Regions from separate parts of the Homo sapiens genome. Here all the other regions are linked to region 3. The links are contacts of gene promoters, found by promoter capture Hi-C in blood cells and fetal thymus (Javierre and others, 2016). All regions are on one chromosome and are shown on one strand. The core of a region is centred on a gene start or on the middle of the fragment in contact, and the rest is flanking DNA. Distances in the headings are between cores, read along the strand shown. Region 1 overlaps YES1 (YES proto-oncogene 1, Src family tyrosine kinase). Region 2 overlaps DLGAP1 (DLG associated protein 1). Region 3 holds the start of METTL4 (methyltransferase 4, N6-adenosine). Region 4 has its middle 38 kb from the start of YES1.

Region 1 (3,101 bases), core at 464-2,963, 1.8 Mb before region 3:
AAGAGCGCCAGGTGCTTTGGGTCTTTAGGTGTGTTCTGGCTATCAATTAATAGGCTGTATAATTTCTTAACTTTTGGTTTCAGTCCCCTTTTGAGGGGAAAAATTTTCCTACAGCAAATATGTAACTTGTAGTTGTCCTTGTCACCACTAGATGGAACTACATCATTGACCAAGACACACCACTGGAGAGGGTGACATAATTAGTGACTACTGTATATTATTGGTTCAAGAGTAAAAATAATAATAAAGCAGATGAAATCAAACACATAAAAATCAGGCCTGTCAGCTTATCTGCTGACTTACTAGTTCCTCTAAGTACCATCTGCACAGGGAAAAAGAGGAAAGAGTATCAATCTTCTCTTTATCCTCCCCCTAACTAACCCTGTTACTGAAGATCCCATCTTGTGGTCTAGAGTTAAGGAAAATGAAGAAACTTCCATTGAAGGTAGTGGGGAGGCCAGGCACAGTGGCTCATGCTGGTAATACCAGCACTTTGGGAGGCCAAAAAGGGAGGACTGCCTGAGGCCAGGAGTTCAAGACCAGCCTGGGCAACATAGTTGAGACCCCAGTCTCTATTTAAAAAAAAAAAAAAAAAGAAAGCAGTGGGGAAAAAAGTTCCTAGAAGTCCTGAATATAGGAATTATGTTTATATTAAAATGAGAAAACTAATTCATTTTAACTTTACCTTATTTCTTTGCTTTAGTACTAAAAATGTAAGTATCTTTCTGATTTTATCATTTTAATTAAATGTGTACAAACACTTTCTATTTTTCACCTTTCTAGCTTTTCCATTTGTTTTAGTCAAACTTAATTTCAAAATTAATTCAGCCTGCCTACTTTTCCTTTTAAACGTCATACTATCCTCTGGAATAACTGGATAATCACTATTCCATTAAACAAAGTGTCAGGTTTCTTCTATCCAAATATGTCTACATAAAAATCTTAAATTAGAAAACAGTATAAGTCTATATGCATACAAATCAAGACTCTTAAAAACATTATCAACACAAATACCTAAGGAGATACTAATACATACCTTTTGACATAAATTCAGTGACAATGTAAATTGGTTCTTCAGAAACAACAGCATATAGTGGAACAAGTTTATCATGTCTTAATTTTTTCATTATCTGAGCTTCTTGAAGGAAAGCTTCTGGCATCATTGTACCTGGTTTTAGTGTTTTGATTGCTACTTTCGTGGTTCCATTCCATGTTCCTAAAGAAATAACACATTTTAGGAATTTATATTTTAAAGGATTTTAGACCAAACTTCAGTGAACAGCACTTCTCTTAAATATTGAAACATATTTTATCATAAATTGTTGCACTTTAATCCACAGCTAAACAATGACAGAAAACAAAAATTCAGGCTTCTTACCCATCCACACTTCGCCGAAACATCCTTGTCCTAGTTTAACCTCTAGTCGCAAAGATTCTCGAGGGATTTCCCAAGCATCTTTTGCTAGACCTTGAGTCTGAGGTTTCACAGTTGGACACACAGTTGTCAACTTGTGGCATAAACCATCAGCATGTTCTAGATAAATGAATAAACTATACTGTAATATCAATTACAAAAATTAAGGGGCATATAGTGTATCAATGTTTTAAGTTTAAACTGTAGAAAAACAAAAACAGAAGTCCTTTCGAGTTTTACTCTAAAAGCACAAAACAAAAAGGGAGTTGTCCATAAGCAGCAAAACATGAAATATACATAAGTGAAACATTTTGTAAAATTTATTTTTAAGGCCGGGCAAGGTGTCTCACGTCTGTAATCCCAGCACTTTGGGAGGTTGAGGCAGATGAATCACGAGGTCAGGAGTTCGAGACTAGCCTGGCCAATACAGTGAAACACTGTCTCTACTAAAAATACAAAAGTTAGCCGGGCATGGTGGTGCATGCCTGTAGTCTCAGCTACTAAGGAAGCTGAGGCAGATGGATCGCATGAACCCAGGAGGCAGAGGTTGCAGTGAGCCAAAATTGCGCCACTGCACTCTAGCCTGGGTGACACAGTGAGATTCTGACTCGAAAAAAAAAAAAATATATATATATATACATGTTATTACTTACTACTTAGTATGTATATACTAATATATAGTAAATATATTGTATTTACTACTTAGTATGTATATACTAATATATAGTAGATATGTTAGTATATTTACTAAATACTTAGTATAACTTAAAATATATATTTTTTTAAGTTATTATTTACTAAATACTTAGTATGTTCCACTATTGTGCTAAATTAGCACTTCACAAGTATCTCATATATAAATGAAGCTTTGAAAACATACGCAACTTTCCCCTAAGGCCCTGCAGTTAGTAAATGGTAGAGATGGGATTCAAATCTAGGTCTGTCTGCTTCCAAAGTTCTGCCTTTGTACACTGGGTTTTATTAATTCTCAAAGAGAATGTTATCATTAAATGTTATTATCTAATAGCCACTAATTTGTAAGAGGCATACCAAAAAATCAAGGAAAAAGTTCATTTAGGATCATTTAGGAGATTTTTTCTTTTTTTTTTTTTGAGATGGAGTCTCACTCTGTCGCCCAGGATGGAGTGCAGTGGTGTGGTCTCAGCTCACTGCAACTTCCACCTCCCAGGTTCAAGTGATTCTCCTGCCTCAGCCTCCCAAGTAGCTGAGCCTACAGGTGCATGCCACCACGCCTGGCTAAATTTTTTTATATTTTAATAGATAGGGTTTTGCCATGTTGCCCAGGCTGGTCTCAAACTCCTGACCTCAAGTGATCTGTCTGTTTCGGCCTCCCAAAGTGGTGGGATTACAGGAGTGAGCCACCACGCCTGGCCTTTTTTTTTTTTTTTTTTTTTTTTTTAAGAGATGAGGTCTTGCTATGTTGCCCAGGCTGTTCTTGAACTCCTGGCCTCAAGTGATCCTCCTGCATCAGTAGTTGGGATTAAAGGCACAATCCACATGCCTAACAGGAGACTGATTTTTTTAAATAAGGGAGACACAAAGTCAGGGAACCCTAGATTCATAACAGCTTGACTTATGAATTCTGCTTATACAATCTTTCTTATTATAAATGAGACATGTTCTCTCCTATTCTCACTAAAATAACCACATAAATTCACATTGTGAC
Region 2 (3,121 bases), core at 258-2,757, 1.1 Mb after region 3:
CAGCCATTGAAATGAAGGTGCCAGGCATGTGAATAATGCTGTCTTGGACTCTCAAGACCAGCCCAACTGTGATGGTTAGTTTGTGTGTCAACTTGACTGGGCCATGAGGTGCCCAGAGATTTGAACAAACATTATTTCGAGTGTGTGTGAAGGTGTTTCTGGATGAGATTAACATTTGGATCAGTTCATTGAGTACAGCAGACTTCCCTTCCTAAGGTGGGTGGGTCTTGTCCAATGAGTTGAAGTCCTGAATAGAACAAAAAGACAAAGTAAGAGAGAATTCTCTGTCTCTGCTGGGACATCAGTCTTCTCTTCCCTTTGGACTTCGACTTGAACTGGAACTTACACAATTGTTCTCCATGTTCTCAGGTCTTTGGACCCAGATTGGAACTATACCATTGGCTCTCCTGGGTTTCAAGCTTGCTTGCTGACTGCAGATCTTGGGACTTCTCAGCCTCCATAATTATGGGTCAGTATACACACACACACACACACACACACACACACACACCCACACACACACACACACACGGATATACTACTTCTCTGGAGAACTCTGACTAATACACCAACTTCTAGCTGAATGTGGAACAGAAGAATTGCCCAGCTGAACCCTGCCTAAATTCCTGATTCAAAATCATAAGGTATAATATAATGATTGTTTTTCAGCTGCTCCACATTGGGGTAATAAGGTATGTAGCAACAGATGACAGACATAGTCAGCTGTGCATACATTTTCTGACTACACATGTGCCCTGTCCCTTAGCTCTTGGTACTCCAGCCACATCACCCTTTCAGTTCTACTAATATTGAATGCAGAATTAGCACGTGCCATCCCTCACCCTTCTTGATCCTTTGACTCTTAGCTAATGAGGATTTTCTCAGGGAAGTTCTCCCTGAGCCTCTAGATTAGTCCCTTTGTTACAATAGATCCTCCCACAAGAACTGTCTCTTTCTTTCAGCGCAGTTATCTCTGTGATTATTTGATTGACGCTAGTCTCTACCCCTAGATGGTAAACTCCATGAGAACAAAGGGTAAGACTGCTTTTGATCACCAGTGAATTCCCCGAGTTCAGCACCATGTCTGGACATAGTAAGTGCAGAATAAATATTTGTTAAGAAGGTGAATGAAATATTTGAAGCAGCTGATAAAGACTCCCTTCTCACCATAGCTTTTAATAACCATGTCAATATTCTTTTCTTTGCACCTTGTGAAAATCTGGGTTCTCAGCCATTGTAACTGGGAAAGACTGTGACTTAATATGAGGCCACTGGTCCTACTATGCTATTGTCTGTGACGGCAGCTAAGCACAACTGAAGTTGCTGGAGTTCCTTTTTGTAACCGCTGGGGAAGAGGAAGCACAAGAGAGCCTCTGGGTGTGTGGGCGCAGGAATGCATAGAGAAAAAAGTAATTAGTGCCTGTTCACATTTATGTCTTTAGTTGGAAATTAGGGAGCTCTCCTAAAAGTCTAAAGAAAATCGTGGATGCTCAAACTGTTTAAAATGTTTCTAAATTTAAGTTTAGAAACAATTTGTTACTAGATCAGGAGCTCTTCCCCCTCCCCCCAACCCCTTCCTCTAAAAATGGAAGAAATAATTGCTGCTTCCTTAGTGCTGTTAGGAAAATTCTGTACCTTCCATAACCATTGCTCTCAGTATTATTTTCTTAATACCTAATCTGAATTCCTACTGTTTTAAAATGCATTCCCCTACTTAGCTCTACGGATATGGAAAATACATGCTCCGCTGGGAATAGTCTTTCTTAAAATATATCTGCTCTGCTTAAAGATTAGTTTATCATTTTTGCCACATATAAAATAAGCTCAGGTCTCTACAAGTGCCCTTGTAATTTCCATTTCATAAATTTAAAAAATATTTTGTTTTACCTCGTTATATTTCTAATAGTGACCTCCAAATGGGTCTGTGTACGATATTTCATTAAATGGGTTTAGTAGGCTTCCAAAGGGAGAAAAGAGGATTTCCATTTCTGCATAATATTCTTGCTCTTTTAAGAAGAAAACACCTCTACAGTGGCAGGGCTAATATGTCGACAGGCATATTCCGTATCATTTATGTAAGTTAACACATTCTGAGGCTCTGCCCATTTCCACTTCTCTGATTTGTCCTCCCTCCCTGAGTGCACAATACTGCATTTGTCCCTTTTGAACATGTAACAGATTAAAGAGCTGGGCAGGAGGCAGATGTAGGGGCACCTTTGATCTCTCATCCTTGGAGGTTAAGGGAGGGCAGACACCTGGCGGCTGCCGAGCTGGAAACAAAACACAGGCCCAGACTGGAATTACCTTAAAGGGAGCCCGGCTCCAACCGCAGAGGCAGCTGGAAGCGCTGAATGGGCACCGGGGGAAGAGAGCCCCGCGGTCAGGCAGAGGACGCAACAGAGTCCTAACAATGTGATCCAGGCTACCCGAGAGCTGGTTAGAATAATCCTTCCTACGCAGAAAGACCCAGGAAACCTTCCAGGAAAGACTAGGCAGCCGCATTGAGAAAAAACGAAAAGTAAATCTTTTGCAAATAATATCACAAAACTTCCAGCTGTGCACAAATACTGAAGGGCAATTTTGATGACAATGCAGGAAGCTTTCAAAGAAAGGATTTTTAAACATATTTTTTCCTTGGCGGAACTCTTTTTAGTAAGGATTTCCACCTTTGCCCCAGGATCCTGCCAATGTTCTTAGTCAAAGCCAGACCCGAGTTTCCTAGGATTCTTCGGTGAAACTGCATTGCCCCCTGGCGTTTGTGTGCTGTCATTACGCCGCACAGATAAAGCCCATGGAACACCTACCAATCCGAGGAAGGATGCAGCTCCTGGTTTCATCTACATGGAGAAACCTCTCTTAAAACACAGGATCAGAGAATGCAGTTCTAAATGGCAAATCTAGACTTGGTTTGACAAGACATGGAATGAAACTTTGAAATTAAAACTCCTTCCTTTTCCATCCTTAGCAGAATCTCCTGAGATGTTCAAGTAGCTCTGGAAAGAAACTGATCAGATTCTAATCTGTCAATTTAAAAAGTTTTTTTTTAAACAATTTTTAAATTTGTTTTAGAGATAGGGTCTTGCTGTGTCATTCAAGCTGCAGTGCAGTGGTGCAATCATAG
Region 3 (2,821 bases), core at 241-2,740:
TCAGGGTCCTTGGTGGTTAAACCTGGGAAAAGGCCACATGAAGACAACTGTAAGCACACATGATCCCTCTGAATTGTTTTCTTTTCCTGCAATTGTGCTTGCTCTTAAAAATTGAAGTTTTAAACAGGGCTCACATGTGATCATCCTTCCATCTATTGGAGTCTAGCTTGAAATGTGACAACCGGAACCAAAAGAACCTTGAATTTGGTGCCTACTTTGGTTTTGGTGCTGCTGCTTCTCAAGATCCTCAGCAGGGATTAAGAAGTTGGGGTGCACAGCAGGAATATCAGGAAATTGGCAGGCTTGACTTCCTGGCAAATTGCTAGCAGGACCACTAAATGCTGAACTGTACTGTGAATGTATACCGAAATACAAGCAATTATTTCTGTACTAAAGGTGTTTTTAATTTTGTATTTGTGTAAAACCACCTTTGGAAGCAGCAACTATCTAGTCAGAAAAGCAAATGATGTTTCCATTAATCTTTTCTGGGGAAAACATTAGTGCTAAGGATTTAACAATCTGTAGGTAAAGTTTAACCTAACAGTATTCCACAAGGAGACTTTTTATTATCAGACGGTTGCCTAATTTTCATATAATTTTTATATTAATATAATCCTTGGTTCCTCCCCATCCCCTTCATAGGCCACAGCTGAGGTGAAAAGGGTCCTGGAATGGCTAGTGAGAGCTAGAAATTCAGACGGGAAAATTGAAACTCAGAGCAGAAAGGCAAGCTGCCCAAAAATAACAACGCTAGTTAATGGCACAATTGCTACCAGACCCAAGTATCCAGACTTCCTGGAGCTGTGAGATCTTTCATCACCACCACTCTCCAGGTACCGGGCAGTGCCTGTTTCTGGATTCAAACTCACAGCAGCGAGGAAATCCTATTTTAGCAAAGTGATCTACTGTTACTGTTGTTAGTGCACCCCTCTCCTGCGTCTCTGCTTCACATCCACTCCCTCGCCGCCCGCCCCCAAACACTTGGATTCTTCCTAGCCTCTCACAGGTCAGCCACCACCAGAGGACCGTGAGCCTCCGGCAAGTGATCAAATACTGAGCCCGAATTTCGGCAGCCGTACCAACGCAATCCTGGGAGCCCATTCCACCCACTCCGCAGCCCCTCTCCCACCTCACCTCTTCCCTTGTCAGAAAAGCGGACGCCGCCTTCCCAGACTCTCCTCATGAAAACAGCACCCATCTAAATAGTGATCATGAAAAATGCCCCTTCCAGTCCACAGAGAAAAAGCTTTCTCCTTTTCTAAGAGTCCATGGGCGCCGCCATGTTGCTGTACGGAAAAACGTTTCCAGGGCGAGTTGAGCGTTCAGGGCACTCCTCGGCGCTCAAGCTGCCCACAGGTCTTCCGACCTAACTTTAGGGGTCGTGCCAGTCTTCGTAGAGACGGCCACACTGGCCCACAGACCCCAGTTCCTGGGGTGACGCAGCTGGGCGCGACCAGCACGCAGCCTTCCAGCGACGAGGCGGTCGCATGGAAGTTACTGCGCGCGTCGTGCGTAATGACGTCAGCGCCGGCGGAGAATTTCAAATTCGAACGGCTTTGGCGGGCCGAGGAAGGACCTGGTGTTTTGATGACCGCTGTCCTGTCTAGCAGATACTTGCACGGTTTACAGAAATTCGGTCCCTGGGTCGTGTCAGGAAACTGGAAAAAAGGTGACTGAATGACATCGGATTAACTTTGTTTCTGCAGAGCTGTTCTGGAGGAAGAAAGTGATGGCGCCAATGACTTAAATTTAGAGGTCCTGAGGCGATGTTTTGGTGTTTGTTTGCTGTTGGGAGAAGCCTCGAGGCCAAAACTGTGCGAGGCGCTGGTTTCACGGGATCTATTAAATTTCTAGTGGCAACGATTTCCCAAGGAGGAAAGGGGAGGGCCTGGGGGACACTGATGAGGAGTGGAGGCTCGGGAGAGGAAACGGGGAAGAATTGAAGGGGGCGGAAAGAGATGGACAAGAGAGGACTCGTTGGGTGGGTTGCGTCTGAATACTAGTGTAGCTTCTTATGGCCGTGTAGGACTGCGTGTAGAAGTCTTCATCTTAAATCATGAGAGCTACATTCTAAGTGGAGATTAAACGTGGACACACAGGTGTGAGTGGAAAAGTTGAATAGATGAACAAGCGCATATTGAAGAGGAAATAGGCGGCCAAAATCAAGAAGAGTCTAATCAGTGTAAAAGACTAAGGAGTACCCAGAGAAGTAAAAGGATTGTCACCTTCCTGAAAGCCAGGGCAGGACCTGAGAAGGCTGGGTGCAGAGATGAGACAGGATCAAAAGTTTTGTCAATCATGTGTATCCTAGGAGACAAATTTTTTAGCAGATGTGAAGGGAGTGACCTGTTAATGTGGTTTGTAAATGGAGGCAGCCTATAGACCATTTTATGGACCGGATGATTTATCCTTGTTGAAGGGGAGATTGATGCCAAAAGGGCAGTAATTGAGGAAACAATGGGTTAAGGACAGAGCAGGAGAGATTGACATTAGGAAAACAGAATAATTCCATTCTCTGAAACCAAAGAAAAGGAAACATTTTGAGGTGAATAAGAGAATTTGAGGTAATTTTTTTGTCTTCCTATTGAAATAGGCACAGCCAACAGCAGTAATGTGGTCTGGGTAACAGACAGGGCTTTAGCTACCACGGATACCCTTGTGAAGGCAAAAACCGTAACTTACTCGTCTTTGCATCTCCTGCATTGCCTAGCACACTCCCCTATATATATAGTGGGCAGTTAATAAATGTTTATGTTGAATATTTTTAAATGGAATTAAATAGATGTTCCTTGCAAATGAGAACTTCAGTGTACATGAACAA
Region 4 (2,900 bases), core at 238-2,737, 1.7 Mb before region 3:
CCACCCGTTGGGCTGACGAAAGGCGCTGGGAGCTCTGGGGCGCAGGAGCTGCCATCTTTGAAGCGCTCACACTGTGCTGGGCACTTTCTGTACCTTATCTTCTTTATTCTTCAAAATGACTCTGGGGGATAGGTGCGGTCCCTGGTTCAAAGACGTGGAAGCAGAAAATTTGGGACATTAGTAACTCTGGGCTACTTAGTGAGTAATAAAGCTGAAATTCAGTTTGTCTGGACTCTAAAACCTATACTTTTAGCACTTTGAAGACAAATTTGTTTCTTCCATGTTTTATGATATGGATTTATCAACAAAGCCCTTCTCTTTGAGTTTCTGAGCGGATCCAAAGCTGTTTTTTGAGAGAAATAATTGGTTCTGGCGGCACCCCTGAGGAAGCAGGACAGGCTTGTCTCTGGCAAGAAAATAAATCACGTTCCTCCATTTTCCCAGCACTTGCAGTCCTGCCATCTGCATGTCTGGGGCCTAAGACATGTGTGTTTTCTTCTACTCACAACACAGAAGACTGGCATTTACTCACTCACCACTGAGTTGGTTGCAACTCAGCATTTGACAGAAGTTTGCTTGTGACATCTGGTGAGACAGGGAGGGAGAAAGAGAGAGAAAGGAATAATTTTAATGTGAAAGAAGATTCGTGGGAGTTATATTTGTCTGGTGTTCTAGGGTATCTGTTATCTGACTGTAATATATTAGGTGATCAGAAATAATGTTTTTTTTTTGAGACAGAGTCTTGTTCTGTCACCCAGGCTGGAGTGCAGTGGTGTGATCTTGGCTTACTGTAACCTCCACCTCCTGAGTTCAAGCGATTCTCCTGCCTCAACCTCCCGAGTAGCTGGGATTACAGGCGTGTGCCACCATGCCCAGCTAATTTTTGTATTTTTAGTAGAGACGGGGTTTCGCCATGTTGGCCAGGCTGGTCTCGAACTCCTGACCTCAGGTGATCCACCTGCCTCGGCCTCCCAAAGTGCTGGGATTATAGGTGTGAGCCACCACGCCCATCCTAGAAATATTTTTTGACTGTCTGTGTGTGTGTGTGTGTGTGTGTGTGTGTGTGTGTGTGTAGTCCTATTTCCCTTAGAAATATCAATATAAAAGTAACCAAAAAAACACTGTTAGGTGAAATTGCTTGTAATGTCTGTCATTTTACTAGTTACTAAAGCTGCTTTAATTGATCCTGCAGGAATGACAGGTATCTCCTTTTCTCACTCTTTGGGGTCTGCCTCATGAAACTGGATGTTTGGTGGAGGAGGTCGTTCTTTTCAGATACAGAAGGCTGGTTCCTTAGTGAAGGTATACAAATGTCTGGGCTTTCATACTCATTAGAATAATTATTCACTATCTTATTTGAGGTATTTATATAAGCATCCCTGTGAGAAATTCCTGCTGAAGTCCAGTTCACTTTTATGAAACAATTCATGTACCTTATTCCAGTTGGAAGTGAGACCTCTAACTTAATATCTTTTTTTTTTTGAGACAGACTTTCGCTGTTACCCAGGCTGGAGTGCAGAGGTGCGATCTGGGCTCACTGCAACCTCCGCCTCCTGGGTTCAGGCGATTCTCTTGCCTCGGCCTCCTGAGTAGCTGGGACTACAGGCCCCTGCCACCATGCCCGGCTAATTTTTGTATTTTTAGTAGAGATGGGGTTTCACCATGTTGGCCAGGCTGGTCTTGAACTCCTGACCTCAGGTGATCTGCCTGCCTCCACCTCCCAAAAATGCTAGGATTACAGGTGTGAGCCACTGCACCTGGCCCTCTAACTAAATATCTTTGCTTTATTGTTTTGGTTATCAGAAAATTCAGGGCCAAATGAGTGCTCAGTTGTACTGCTTGATTCCTAACAGATGCTAAGTACACATATGGTTCTTTAAAATAATAATATTATTATTATTTAGACAGGGTCTTGCTCTGTCGCCCATGCTGGACTGCAGTAGCATGATCATAGCTCACTATGGCCTCCAACTCCTGGGCTCAAGTGATCCTCTCACCACAGCCTCCTGAGCAGCTGGCACTATAGGTATGAGTCCTCATTTTTGAGTCCCTGGCCCATGTTTAATTTCAATTGTCATTGTCAGTTTTAATATGTTGTAAGTTATCTAAGACACCCCTCCTATTTTTTTTTTTTGGCAATAGGCATGGCATTTTCCCATGCGTTACTTGCTAATTGCAAAGGGCAAAATACCTTTGAAATGGAGACATCTGGCTTTTACTACCCCAACGTAGCAAATCAATTTAAAAATTACTAATAGTGGACCAGTCAGGCAGTATATGATTCTTGATGTAAATATTAACCTGAATAAGAGGAAGCCTTTACATCTTACTTCCAATTCCTGGAAATACAGGGGATAGAGAAACAAGCCAAACAATATCACAAAGAAATAAAGTCAAACCTGGAATGTGGGAGACTGTATTAGTTGGTGCAAAAGTAATTGCGGTTTTTGCCATTAGTTGGTTTGGACTTGCTCATGTGGCCATTCCAGCCCAGACAACCTTCTATGGGACTGCCACATAAGCAAGTCCAAAACCGAGCAATGGCAAAAGTGGTAATTACTTTTGCACCAACTAATGCAATGCAACTAGCCAGGTCGCCTAAAACACTTAATTTCATGAAAATAATTGGGGAGATGGAGTCTGTTCTAGAATAAAAGAGATGGGACGATGTACAGAAACTAGATTAACTTTCATTACTGGTGAGAATGTAAAATAGTACAGCCTCTCTGGAAAATAATTAATGTTTCCAGTATGTGATCCAGCAATTCCGTTCCTAGGTATCTACCCAAGAGAAAATATATGTGAACACGAGGACTTGTATATGAATACTCATAGTAGCATTATTATTATTATTATTATTTTTGAGATGGAGTCTCACTCTGTCACCCAGGCTGGAGTGC

The links. The method cuts DNA at HindIII sites, captures the fragments that hold promoters and counts their contacts. A CHiCAGO score of 5 or more calls a contact.
Region 1: a contact is called between a fragment that was not itself captured here and the fragment with the promoter of METTL4 in region 3, in 1 of 17 cell types (naive CD8 T cells). The highest score is 7.3, in naive CD8 T cells.
Region 2: a contact is called between a fragment that was not itself captured here and the fragment with the promoter of METTL4 in region 3, in 1 of 17 cell types (fetal thymus). The highest score is 5.2, in fetal thymus.
Region 4: a fragment that was not itself captured here is called in contact with the fragment with the promoter of METTL4 in region 3 in 4 of 17 cell types (M1 macrophages, megakaryocytes, M0 macrophages and 1 more); the score reaches 6.2 in M1 macrophages.

Annotation. Positions count from the first base shown.
Region 1 is chr18:741,882-744,982 of GRCh38, forward strand. YES1 (YES proto-oncogene 1, Src family tyrosine kinase) reads right to left here. Exons shown (of 12, transcript NM_005433.4): 7 at 1,379-1,534; 8 at 1,037-1,216. Among named protein-coding and RNA genes, the nearest start is that of ENOSF1, 31 kb to the left of the region's middle. RefSeq lists an enhancer at 43-112. The HindIII fragment of the contact is 1,130 bases long and covers 1,149-2,278 here.
Region 2 is chr18:3,663,707-3,666,827 of GRCh38, forward strand. All of the region lies in intron 7 of DLGAP1 (DLG associated protein 1), which reads right to left. Among named protein-coding and RNA genes, the nearest start is that of DLGAP1-AS6, 12 kb to the left of the region's middle. RefSeq lists a silencer at 2,063-2,357. The HindIII fragment of the contact is 2,180 bases long and covers 418-2,597 here.
Region 3 is chr18:2,570,015-2,572,835 of GRCh38, forward strand. It overlaps METTL4 (methyltransferase 4, N6-adenosine), which reads right to left and starts at 1,491. Exons shown (of 9, transcript NM_022840.5): 1 at 1,135-1,491. NDC80 (NDC80 kinetochore complex component) reads left to right here and starts at 1,543. Exons shown (of 17, transcript NM_006101.3): 1 at 1,543-1,669. RefSeq lists enhancers at 584-1,506, 1,389-1,548. The HindIII fragment of the contact is 2,186 bases long and covers 1,245-2,821 here.
Region 4 is chr18:848,735-851,634 of GRCh38, forward strand. No RefSeq gene overlaps it. Among named protein-coding and RNA genes, the nearest start is that of YES1, 38 kb to the left of the region's middle. The HindIII fragment of the contact is 7,135 bases long and covers 1-2,900 here.